Regions from separate parts of the Homo sapiens genome. Here all the other regions are linked to region 1. Evidence: promoter capture Hi-C in 16 types of primary human blood cells and fetal thymus (Javierre and others, 2016). All regions are on one chromosome and are shown on one strand. Each heading gives the region's core, a stretch centred on a gene start or on the middle of the fragment in contact. The rest is flanking DNA. Distances are from core to core; before and after follow the strand shown. Region 1 holds the start of STOML3 (stomatin like 3). Region 2 holds the start of SUPT20H (SPT20 homolog, SAGA complex component). Region 3 has its middle 20 kb from the start of CSNK1A1L. Region 4 has its middle 2.7 kb from the start of CSNK1A1L.

The links. Contacts are between HindIII fragments. The CHiCAGO score rates a contact against its expected background, and 5 or more counts as called.
Region 2: the fragment with the promoter of SUPT20H here is called in contact with the fragment with the promoter of STOML3 in region 1 in 5 of 17 cell types (total CD4 T cells, M2 macrophages, total CD8 T cells and 2 more); the score reaches 11.9 in total CD4 T cells.
Region 3: a fragment that was not itself captured here is called in contact with the fragment with the promoter of STOML3 in region 1 in 4 of 17 cell types (naive CD8 T cells, total CD4 T cells, M2 macrophages and 1 more); the score reaches 8.1 in naive CD8 T cells.
Region 4: a fragment that was not itself captured here is called in contact with the fragment with the promoter of STOML3 in region 1 in 1 of 17 cell types (non-activated CD4 T cells); the score reaches 5.8 in non-activated CD4 T cells.

What each region holds. Positions count from the first base shown.
Region 1 is chr13:38,989,307-38,992,443 of GRCh38, reverse strand. It overlaps STOML3 (stomatin like 3), which reads left to right and starts at 1,613. Exons shown (of 7, transcript NM_145286.3): 1 at 1,613-1,774. The coding sequence starts at 1,723. The HindIII fragment of the contact is 645 bases long and covers 1,065-1,709 here.
Region 2 is chr13:37,058,167-37,061,303 of GRCh38, reverse strand. SUPT20H (SPT20 homolog, SAGA complex component) reads left to right here and starts at 1,616. Exons shown (of 26, transcript NM_001014286.3): 1 at 1,616-1,745. RefSeq lists a silencer at 1,445-1,704. The HindIII fragment of the contact is 8,647 bases long and covers 1-3,137 here.
Region 3 is chr13:37,084,594-37,087,730 of GRCh38, reverse strand. No RefSeq gene overlaps it. Among named protein-coding and RNA genes, the nearest start is that of CSNK1A1L, 20 kb to the left of the region's middle. The HindIII fragment of the contact is 866 bases long and covers 1,247-2,112 here.
Region 4 is chr13:37,106,766-37,109,902 of GRCh38, reverse strand. No RefSeq gene overlaps it. Among named protein-coding and RNA genes, the nearest start is that of CSNK1A1L, 2.7 kb to the right of the region's middle. The HindIII fragment of the contact is 1,828 bases long and covers 715-2,542 here.

The DNA.
Region 1 (3,137 bases), core at 364-2,863:
ACAAGAAGGCCAGGGAGAGATTAGAGATTTTTTCTACTGTTTTCACAAAATAATACAATATAATATAATAAATGCCATACAATAAATATAATGGTATACAAAAGAAAAACAAGATATATTTGGGATATTGATATGAGAGAAATGAACATCAGAAAATTAGAAAATTGGTGTTCTTAGTATTGGAATAACCACAAAATTGTCTGTGGTTCTATGTGGTCTGATGAAAGAAGGAATCCTAGTACAGGATCCTAAGGATCTGGATTTGAGAAAGAGCTTTGCCATTTGAGAGCTGTTTTCATTTGTGATTTATATATTCATTCATTCAGCAAGTATTGTTGAACATCAATCATGTGCCCACGTTGTTCTAATTGTTGCAGATGCAATGGAAATGTTAGACCAAGTCACTCTCCTCATGGAAATGTATAGTGCAAGGCAGGGGTCAGCAAACTTTTTTTGTGAAGGGACAAACAGTAAATATTTTAGGCCTTACAGCTTGTATGGTCTGTGTCACAACTACTCAAATCCACGGGTGCAGTGCAAAAGTGAGCACAGACAATACAAAAATGAAAGAGCTGGGCATGGTGGCTCATATCTACAATCCCAGCAGTTTGGGAGACCAAGGCTGAAGGATCATTTGAGCCCAGAGTTTGAGACCAGCCTGGGCAATATAGTGAGGCCCCATCTCTAAAAAAAAAAAAAATTAAAAATTAGCCAGGTATGGTGGTGTGCACCTGGAGTCCCAGCTGTTGAAGAGGCTGAGGTAGGAAGATTGCTTGAGCCTGGCAGGTCGAGATTGCAGTGAGCTGTGATTGTGCCACTGCACTCCAGCCTGGGCAACAGAGTGAAATCCTATCTCAAAAAAAAAAAAAAAAAAAAGAAAGCAACAAAAGGACATACTGTGTTCCAATAACACTTTATGTTTTAAAAACAAGTGGTAAATTAAATTTAGCTGGCAAGCTAAAGTTTGTCAATTCTTGGTCTAGAAGAAGAAACAGACACAAGCCAAAAAATTATGCATATGATAACACGTGCAAAGATCCGGTGGCGAGAAGACATATCAAGCTTTGGAGGCACTGATAGGAGACCAATGGAGCTGCTTCACGGAGAGACACATGAGTGAGGCTGGAAAGGGAGGAAGGGGCAGGCCAGCAGGGTCTTGTAGGACACTTAGGAGTTTGGTCTTTACAATATTGACAGTTGGCAATTTTTTGATTATTTTAAGCAGGATGAAGACATGATCAGATTTGAGTTTCAAAAGCTCACTCACTGCAGTGTTAGAATGAGTTGGGTTAAATTTTCTCATCTGAAACATAAGGATGGATACACTTGCCCTGTGTATTGAACAGGTCATTGTGTAATCAGTGATCACACAAGATTTATACAAGGTGCATAGAAGTGTTTTATGAAATATAAATGCTATAGAAAATTACACAGCAATATTTTACAGGAAGCAATACCACCAGATGGTCATATTCTTTCAAGTTTTTTCTGTGAACAAAGGCAGTCTGAACTCATAAAAGAAATCTTTTTGTTTATGTTATCAGGCTTCCCTCACCAGGGTAACTACCCCTTAGGGAGTTCACTAAAGAGAAGGAATGTCTTTCACTCTCTCATACTTTCTCCTCTCCCCTCTCCCAAGCACATCTGAGTTGCTGCCTGTTCTTCACACTTAGCTCCAAACCCATGAAAAATTGCCAAGTATAAAAGCTTCTCAAGAATGAGATGGATTCTAGGGTGTCTTCACCTGAGAAGCAAGATAAAGAGAATTTCGTGGGTAAGTTCCTTTTTCCTGTCTTAGGCTTGTTTTTTACATATATGGCAAAGCAGGAGTTGTAGCATTATAGACAGGTATAGAGTAAGTATGAGATATATTTGCAGAAATCGGCCTCAATTTCATTTATAGCCCAGGATTTTGAATTCATTGCTTATGCTGATTTCATTTGCTTCTTGAACGGCAGTCTATAACTTGCTTTATTTTTCCTTCAATTTTAGATAAAGTTGGTGTTTATCTTTGAATTTCTTCTTTCTGTATGAAATCCTTCTCAGGATTTTGAATTCATTGCTTATGCTGATTTCATTTGCTTCTTGAACAGCAGTCTATAACTTGCTTTATTTTTCATTCAATTTTAGATAGAATTGGTGTTTATCTTTGTATTTCTTCTTTTTGTATTAAATAACAAAGATATGTTGAAGAGGCTGACTTTTCTCCAACTTCAAACATTTTCTGATGATGCTGAGATTAAAAAGAAAAGTTGGTTTGAGCTGTATCCTGTTTGATAAATGGAGAGAAGTTGAGAAAAAAAACTTAGCTTATAAGTACCAACTACTATCATTAATACTAATGACTATTATGTGTTACAAAGCATTTTGCTTGCATTATCTCTTTCAATTTTACAATAATTCTGAGGTAGATCCTCTTAGAATCTCATTTTACAAATGAGAAAACTGAGCATTGGAAAGTTTAAAAAGTTGTTCAGAAAGTGATTATGATGATGGTGTGCGTGTGTGTGTGTGTGATGATGGTGTGAGTGTGCGTGTGTGTATGACCTAACCTGTGCTCTGTACCTTATGTTGCCAAAAAAGCCATAGTACATGTTAGAAATAGAGAACACGTTTGGCATTACTAATACATAAAAGAAAAAACTAGGCTGCATGCACTGGTGCATGCCCTGTAATCGCAGCACTTTGGAAGGCCAAGGCAGGCAGATCACTTGAGCTCAGGAGTTCGAGACCAGCCTGGGCAAAATGGCAAAAACTCATCTCTACAAAAAATACAAAATTTAGCCAGGTGTGGTGGCACATGCCTGTGGCTAAGTGGGAGGTTGAGGTGGGAGGATTGCTTGAGCCCAGGAGGTTTAGGCTTCAGTGAGCTGAGATTGCACCACTGTACTCCAGCCTGGGTGACAGAGTGAGACCCTGCCTAACAAAGAAAAAAAAATGGAATAAAGAAAGAAAAAAGAAAAAGTATACATTTAGAGACATTTACCTGAATTGGAAAAGAAACTTTTCTTTTGAAGTAGGCATGAAAAGCTTGAAGGCAGTAAATATCATCTGGAAATGCAAGCGGGAGATCTCAAGAGTCCCCTTATTTATCCTTCATGAGACATTTAGTTTCCATTTTAACAGGTGAAGACATC
Region 2 (3,137 bases), core at 367-2,866, 1.9 Mb after region 1:
TAACTAACAACAAAAACACAAACAACTCAATTTAAAAATGGGGAAATACCTGAATAGAGAGTTCTCCAAAGAAGATATACAAATGGCTAACAAGGGCATGAAAAGATGCTCAAGATAACTAGCCATTAGGGAATGCAAATCAAACCCACAATAAAATACCACTTTATACCCTTTGGGATGGTTACTATCAAAGGAATAGAAAATTATGGTGTTAGTGAGGATGTGGAGAAATTGGAATCCCCCGACAATGCTCTTGGTATGTAAAATGAATGGTTCAGCTGCTGTAGAAACATTTGTTTATGGGTTCCTCAAATATTTTCACGTAGAATTACTATAAGACCCAGAAGTTCCACTATGTTTATACCCAAAAGAATTGAAAACAGGGACTCGAACAAATACTTGTATACAAATGTTCATATCATTGCTATTCACAATAGCCCGAAAGTGGAAACAACCCAAATGTCCATCAGTGGATGGACAGGTAAAACTGTGGCATCTAGGTACAGTGGAATAGTAGCCATAAAGAGACATGAAGTACCGATACATGCAACAAGGTGTACAAGGTGAACCTGCAAAAGATTATGCTACGAAGACAGACCAAAAGGTCACACATTCCATTTATATGAAATATCCGTAATAGGTACCACAGTTTGAAAGCTGATTGGCATTTGCCAGGGGCTGAGAGAGGGAGGAATGGGAGTAACCACTTAATGTGTTCGGATTTTATTTTGGAGTGTACTTTAATACACTTATAATGTGTGCAACCACTAACTCTAATTCCAAGACACTTTCATTCATTATGACCCTTGGCATTGTGAACGGCAAATAATAAATGCTCATTAAAAAGATTCACCCCAGGCCGTGCATGATGGCTCACGCCTGTAATCCCAGCACTTTGGGAGGCCAAGGCGGGTGGATCACTTGAGATGAGGAGTTCAAGAGCAGCCTGCCCAACATAGTGAAACAGTCTCTACTAAAAATACAAAAATTAGCCGGGTGTGGTGGTGCACGCCTATAATCCCAGCTACTCCGGAGACTGAGGCAGGGAGAATCGCTTGAACCCAGGAGGCAAAGGTTGCAGTTAGCTGAGATTTCTCCACTCCACTCCAGCCTGGGCGACAGAGCGAGACTCTGTCTGAAAAACAAACGAACAAACAAAACAAAACAGACCTTACAATGTGTGCTAGTAATGCGGTTTCTGAATTTTTAGAACCCTTCTCTGGGGTGGTTTTTTTAAAAACATAAACTCATTGGCAGTTGATATACTACAGAAGGTTGTACGCATTGGACTAGTAAATGTAGGTAACGGTGTCGCTGTTTTTCCATTTGTATGTGCTAAGCAAAGAGAAAAGCTAGTTCTATGTTTCTTCCACTCTAGAAATTCAACAGGGTCGTTTTTCCCCAAATTCACATCTACACCCTCCCTCCCACTTTGCGGACTCGGACTCCAGGATTGAGCAGAGATCCTGGGCCCCGCCTCCCGCCCGGACGCAAGTCTCTGCGGGCCTCACCGGCGTCCTGCGCGGAACGCAGCGCTCCAGGCTCCTGGCAGCGGCCCCGCCCTCCCGGCTCCTCCCCTTCCGCCCGCCTTCCCCGCCCCTCGGCCCAGCCTGCCAATCGGAAGTGCGGCCGCCGGAACTGGCTGTTGGTGGGGGTGCAGCACTGAGCCGCCGACGGGGCGGGTGGGCTTTGCTGCCGAGCAGGCGGCGCCGTCTTGGGGCCTAGCGGCGAGGCGACCCGCACAGGTGGGCGGTGGCGGTAGGTGGGTGGCCAGCGACTGGCAACGCGGTGGCTTAGACGCGCGAGATCCGGCCAGGGTCAGAGGTGAGCGGGCCGCATCCCAGAGCCCGCTGGAGGAAGACGGGGTCCCCAGAGACCCGGCAGGCCGGGGCGGAGGTTGAGGCAGCTAAACTCCAGGTGGACGCCTACATCGCCTTTCGCGGTGTTGCTAAGCCGAACTTTTAATTTTAGTTTGACTTTTGGGTTCCAGAGACGGGTATTTCCGGACACTGGCAAGAATTTTGCCTTGCGTGTCTTCGAAGGCGGTTTTCTTGGTGTCCATATTGCATAAAGGCTTGTCGCTCCTCTGTGGAGATGACGGTTGTACAGGTAAAGCCTAAGTTGTGACAAAAGCTCCTGCAATGGGAAGACTCTGGTCGATCAGGGAAATCAGTAGAATTGATAGCAACGCGTAGAATTGATAGCAACGCTTAGAATTGGATTAATTACTGGCCATGGTTACCCGGCGCTCAGAAATGAACTTGGAGAACAGTTGCCCTGGAAGCCATCTCCCGTAGCCACTGCGTAGTGGGGGCCGCGTCTTCTTGAGTGCAATTCATCAAAGTCTCTAGTAGGACTCAAAATATAAAGTGACGAGCAGGATTTTCGGAGTCGAGTACAGTGTACTTGGGTTGATCACCATGTTATAAAGTTAGATCCAAATTAAGAAATACATATTCGTCTCTGAGCAGAATTGGGTCCTTTTTTTAATTGCTTTGCTTTTTTTAAAGAAATGTAAAAACAGATGCCGGTTTGATTAGTTTGCAGGTTGTAATATTGGAAGGGACCTAAGATTGGACACAGAGTTCTGAATTCTGATCTAGGTCTGTGATGTTAGGAAAGTCAGTTGTTCTGATTGCCTTATTCTGTAAAACGGAAATGATAATGATTACAGTTTCCTCACAGGTTCTAGTAAATTCTGTGTATAGACAGAATGTTTGCTTTGTGAGAGATATGAAGTTATTAGTTTTTGTCTGAAGTACTTAAATAATTTAAAGTTAGTAAGCCCCCATCCCCAATTTAGTGACAAGAAATCTTAAAGTCATCACATTTTGTCCGAAAAGTACATAGTGTATCTTCATCTTCAAATTCAGTGGTCAGAAAATTTTCACGTTCACCTAAATTCAACTTAAACCTCCTACGAGCTTTTCAAGGGTAGGAGTAATATCTTACTCATTGTAAATGATCGTAAATCATTTACAGTTGTATGGTGCTTGTGTTTGTGTTGTATTAGGAGGTTAGTCCATTTTTTAAAGTTTCAGACGGAGTTTCACTCTTGTTGTCCAGGCTGGAGTGCAATGGGGCGATCCTGGCTCACTGCAACCTCTGCCTCCCAGTTCAAGCCATTCTCCTGCCTC
Region 3 (3,137 bases), core at 430-2,929, 1.9 Mb after region 1:
CCAATTTGCCTCCATTTCCACATAGCAACTCCTCAGTCACTTTTGGGGAAGGAAAAATATTTCGCCATCATTATATACTTTACACTTGCACAGAAACTGTGCTTCTCCTTTTTCCCTTTCTTTTCTTAACCTTGACTAACTAAATAACTGTGAAAGCATTCTCAACATTTAATGAGTCTATTTTTTTTTTAGTTACTTTAAATACTATACTGCCTACGAGTAATTTGTGGAGACACATGTGGCCACATAGGTGGGCAGAGTGACCAGCCTGGCCGCAATACAGTTAAGGCCACCTTGTGTTTGTCAACATCACTCATCTTGCTCTTTCATGGCTATGCTGCCCCAAAATCATTGCATTATTGTCAGCAGCCTGAAAATTATAAGAAGACAACATATCCTCTATCTCAACCAATAATTATTATTTGCAAATTCTCCTTTTCTATCAAAAAAAGTTTCTTTTTCTCTTTTGCCAGCTACTTTTGATCCATTTTCATGACCTCTTGCTTCTTTTTTACTGGCCCTTTTGGATCTGATGCTGTCTTTCTGTTTTCACAGTGTGATGGTTAATACTGAGTGTCAACTTGATTGGATTGAAGGATGCAAAGTATTGATCCTGGGTGTGTCTGTGAGGGTGTTGCCAAAAGAGATTAACATTTGAGTCAGTGGACGAGGAAAGGCAGACCCACCCTTAACCTGGGTGGGCACAGTCTAATCAGCTGCCAGCATAGCTAGAAAATAAGCAAGCAGAAAAACATGAAAAGAGAGACTGACCTAGCCTCCCAGCCTACATCTTTCTCCCATGATGGATGCTTCCTGACCTCGAATATCGGACTCCAAGTTCTTCAGTTTTGGAACTCGGACTGGCTCTCCTTGCTCCTCAGCCTGCAGACGGCCTATTGTGGGACCTTGGGATCCTACGAGTTAATACTTAATAAACTCCCCTTTACATATATGTATTCCATTAGTTCTGTCCCTGTAGAGAACCCTAATACACACAGTCATGGCCTTTTTCAGATCTGATTTAAGACAGCTCTCAGCTGCTCTTCGTTGTGTGGCTCGTGATAATGTGTTAAAATATGCTCACAAATCCACTGTCTACTGTATTCAATCCAGGCTCCTCCACCTTCTCACTTTATGCTATGGTCTTAATATCAGTGTCTTTCCAAAGTTCATATGTTGGAACCTGATACCCAATGTGAGAGTATTAAGAAGTGAGACCTTTAGGAGGTAATTAAGTCATGAAGCTTCATACTCATGAATGAGATTATTGCCCTTATAGAAGAGGGCTAGGAGAGCCCATTTGCCCCTTTTTCCCTGTGAGGACACATAGAAGTTGCCATCTACAAAGAATGAGCCCTCATCAGACACTGAATCTGCTACCACCTTGATCTTGGACTACCCAGCCTCCAGAACTATAGGCAACAAATTCCTGTTGTTTAAAAGTACCCAGTCTAAGCTATTTCGTTATAACAGCAAGAACAGACTAAGCCACCTTACCACTCAGTACTCCCTCCTCTTTCTCCTTCTCACCTACCACCTCCAATTTCTCTTCTCAATTCTCTCAGTTGATCTTCTTTTAAGCTGTTTTTTAAAAGTCCAGCTAGGTCACTATCCTTTTTGGGGTTCACTCCATCAAAGTTTATTTTTTTAAGTTAAAAAGAAAAATCATATTAAAAAAAAACTGATTTTCACAGCACAATTCCTGGGAGCAATTTTATGATAAAAGTGAAAAGGAGAAAACTGTGTGATTTGAAATTTTAACTTGATAAAAATGCTTTCTAGGTTTTATTGTTCCAATTGATTAGTTAAGTAACACACTAAATGTTTCCATATGTCAGTGACTTCATTATTATGAACAAATAAACTGACCTAAATACAAGCCAAAAGAGATTACTCAACGAAATCTGTGATTGTTGGATGAAAAAATATAATTAAACTCTAGCCAAGAAGAGTAAAGGGTTATAATAAAAAAAAAAATACTGCATACAGTTCTGGTCACATAGAAACACAGTCAATTTCTAAATCCTCTTTAAACACTTTTTAAAAAGAACAGCAACAGTGTGCTTCTAAGAGAGTCAATCGACTAAAAAGGTTTTTCTACATTTAGAAGCTTATTGTCATTTAAGCCTACTCTGTCTGAAGAGGTGGTTCGTATTGAACAGGAAGTCTTAAAAACTCTTGGCCGGGCGAGGTGGCTCATGCCTGTAATCGCAGGACTGTGGGAGGCCGAGGCGGGCAGATTACCTGAGGTCAGGAGTTCCAGACCAGCCTGGCCAACGTGGTGAAACCCAATCTCAACTAAAAATACAAAAATTAGCCAGGCATGGTGGCACACGCCTGCAATGCCAGCTACTCAGGAGGCTGAGGCAGGAGAATTGCTTGAGCCTGGGAGACGGAGGTTGCAGTGAGCGGAGATCGTGCCACTCCAGCCTGGCTGACAGGGCAAGACTCTGTCTCAAAAAAAAAAAAAAAAAACTGTTGCCAAAATTCTCACCAAAAATATCTAAGATATATTAATACAAACTACCCAATGTGCGTTAGTCAGACAAACTCTAAAAATTATGATTTTTTTTTTTTGAGATGGAGTCTCCCTCTGTCGCCCAGGCTGGAGTGCAGCGGCGCCATCTCAGCTCACTGCAACCTCCGCCTACGGAGTTCAAGCAATTCTCCTGCCTCAGCCTCCCGAGTAGCTGGGACTACAGGCACACGCCGCTACGCCCGGCTAATTTTTGTATTTTTAGTAGAGACAGGGTTTGACTATGTTGGCCAGGCTTGTCTCGAGCTCCTGACCTCGTGATCCACTCACCTCGGCCTCCCAAAGCGCTGGGATTAGAGGCCTGAGCCACCATGCCTGGCCTAAAAACTATGATTTTTAGCAGAATACTGAAATTATGATTTACAGTCTTCTTGCGACATTTGTATTAATACAGCATCTCTCCATAGAAACTAATTGAACGGCAAAGGCTAAATCTCATACTATGGCCAATTTACAAGGCCAACAATATGACATGTAGATTGATCATCAGGCAAATAATTTTATTTCATACTCTATGAAAGTCAAACTATCAAAATTCACTATCAATTAAAGCCTGATTTGAACTGACATTAGGGTATTTACAGTCTTTATTTATCCACTT
Region 4 (3,137 bases), core at 379-2,878, 1.9 Mb after region 1:
TTCCAATCCATTGTTCACCCTAATCACAGTCAAACTAATCACAAGATGAATCCATAAAATAATTAAAACAACCTAAATTAATGAATCATTTATACTTAGTCTCATTCATTTTGAACATCTGACATAATTACAACTTACAGCTTTTTCTTTGTATTAGAGTAGATAGCTGTTAGAACTTAAGCAAAATTCACTGAAAGGAACTGGAAGATGCAATAAGTGTGATGTCATGAACTGTTTTCATGTAATTTTTCTGATCTTTGAATAAAGTAACATAATTAATGAATGTGTTCACATAATGATCTGCCAACAATTTGAATGGTCTTAATAAGGTGACAACCTGCAAGAAAAAGTAAAAGAGGTTACACAACTCCTCACTGCTCTGGAAGGAAGTCCAGAAAGGTGCCAGAATTGCAATAACTTCATGGGAACCAAACAAAATAAGTAATGATTTTTAAGGCTGAAATTGAACCCTACATTCTCAATATAGTAAAATTGGTATTTAAGTGTTTTCTTTTTTTCAGATAAACATATTGCAAGTTTCAAAATGAGTGAACAGAAAGATGCAGAGCCATGGAGAAAATATTCTTTCATGAAGAAAGAAAAATCCAGCACATTACAATGACGCCCTCTGCTGTGATTTTTGATACTACACCAAATAACCTCATTTCCAATAGTGTCTCACTGTCTTTGCAGTGCCAATACTTCCAAAAAGCTTTGAGGAAAAAATGACTTAAATCCTTCTATAAAGTTAGTCATCTCCAGGATCTTTTAAAATTGAAGTGATTGATTCTGGGTAATGTTATTCTGAACATAGTGTTTGAGCCACATAAATGTCAGTAAATCCCTTAGTGACAGCATTATTTATTTAAGAACATATTTTGATTTATTTTGTATTCTATTTAAATAGTTCCAAAAGGAGATTATATTCATGCCAAATGGTTTCTGTAATGACAACTGCCGACCCAATTTGATAGCCAAAAATTTTTTTTTTTAACTAAGAAATTTTTGTGTCTCAAATGACCATTCTACTAAAGTGTCTCCATTTCCTGGGAAAAGATACCAAGAAGCCCAGAAAATTAACCCCAAAATTCATATGAGACTAAAACCAATGCCATTTGAGTATCATTTCTTAATTGCCAAAAGCAGACACGGACTTACAGGGAAGTGAATAAAGCCTCCTTTGCAAGGTCCCTTCTAAGTGTTAGGAGTGGACAGGAGTTGTGAAGTATTTCAGGTGGGGAGGAGAAGTCAGATTGCAATGTGGAAGCATTTCTATGTAAGAATTTCTGGTCAATTGCATCAAGATAGCTTAGGGGATAAAAAAAAAGACTTGACCCTCTAACACTCAGGTAAATTGCAATGATTTCTTTTCCTAAGTTAAATATTTCATGCCTGTTTGTTGTTGTTCTTGTTGTTGTTGTTGTTGTTGTTTTCTTAAAGAGGGCCACAAAAAAAATTGTATAAAGTTCAGGACTGACAAAACCCGAATTGGCTGTTAAACAGTACAATACTACCCAGTACAATCCTGCCCAGAATACGTTATTTTACTTTTACTGGGGTCATCTTATATTAATAGAAATTATTTTAGAGGCAATTTTGAAATCAAGGCTAAATCATAGCTTTAAAATGCATTGGTAAAATACTTTATACAATTAAAGAAAAGAAACAGAACTAATATATTCCCAACAGTGAAGCCACCCAGCGTTCAGGAGCCTCTGGCTGTTGATGTCTATGTAGGGGTTAAAAGTACTGGCTTTGGAGGCAGGCTATCCTGGATTTCCATTCTGAATCCATCATTACCTACCTATGCCACCTTTGGTGAGTCACTCATGCCTGCAAATAGGAGGCATTCAATAACTATTTGTTGAATGAATGAATAAATAAAGAATGCATCAACCCCACACACTGTCCACAAAACTTTATGAAATACAGTAGTTCAATTTACTTCCATTTTAAAAACTATTTGTTGCACATCTTTTATGGAAAAATTTTGGACAAAAGGGTAGGAGGGGATGCAAGAGTTTAAGCAAAGTGTTGTTTGGGTTTAAAAAGAGTATTTATATTTGGTTGAGGAGATTGGAAAAGGTTTCATGGAGCAAACAGCATTTAAGGAAGAGCCCTGAGATTATTAGGATTAGACCTGGGCGATGGGAAAGATAAAGCAGGCTGGAAGCATTTCAGGCTGAGGAAACAACACCATAAGCCAAGACCCAAAGATGAAAAAATGCAGGGAGTATGTGTTCGGGGAAAAATCCGCAGTCCCACCGGCTTGTGGTAAGAGAATTCATGGGAGACTGGATTGGAAGCTATTCAGGGTCATATCATCACTTCAGTTACTGATCCTCCCCATTCTGGAGATGCTCACAACTTCCCTGTAAGTGAAGGTTCACCCAACCACCATTATAAGTTACACTTGACCTTCTTTATAGACAGTGCCTTTATTTAACTGGTACAAAAAAGTATGGGACTTAGTAAACAATAAATAAACTATAATTAAACTATTCTAGTTCCAGAATTGAAAGGGGATTTTTTGATTCAAGCTTTTGTCCATGTATGGGTTATCTGTAACTTTTTTGAATAGTGACTTCTCTCACATAGAGATTATTTGAATTTCAAGGTTCGTGTTGAAGCCATTGACTGGAAGACTGAACGGGAAGGAAGCATAATGGGCAGTGGGTTAACAACATAAATTTTATTCTTGGTTATTAGAAAGGAAATTGTTCTCCAGGCAAATTTCAACAAAGTTGGATGAGTAAATGAAAGAAATGCCATTCTAGTTGGTACGGTATAAAAAGTAACTACCTTGGGTCAGAATTCAGTTTCAAATTGGCCTCTGACACTTGTCTGTAGTGTGGTCTTGGGCAATTCATCTAACCTCTCTATGCCTTGATTTCCACTTGTATAAAATGAGAAGTACAATCATAATAATAAAATATGCCAGCAGTATACTGTATTACTATCCACCTGAGGTAGGAGTATGTATTTTCACCCCACTGTCTTTGGACCTGGCCATGTGATGTGTTTTGCCCAGTGGAATGTAACATTTGCCACTCCTTTTATTATGAGAACAGCATGCTCCTAAGGAGGCTGCTCTTTCAGCCTGCATTCTAGAACAAAGAGGACACAGGAAGCAGAGA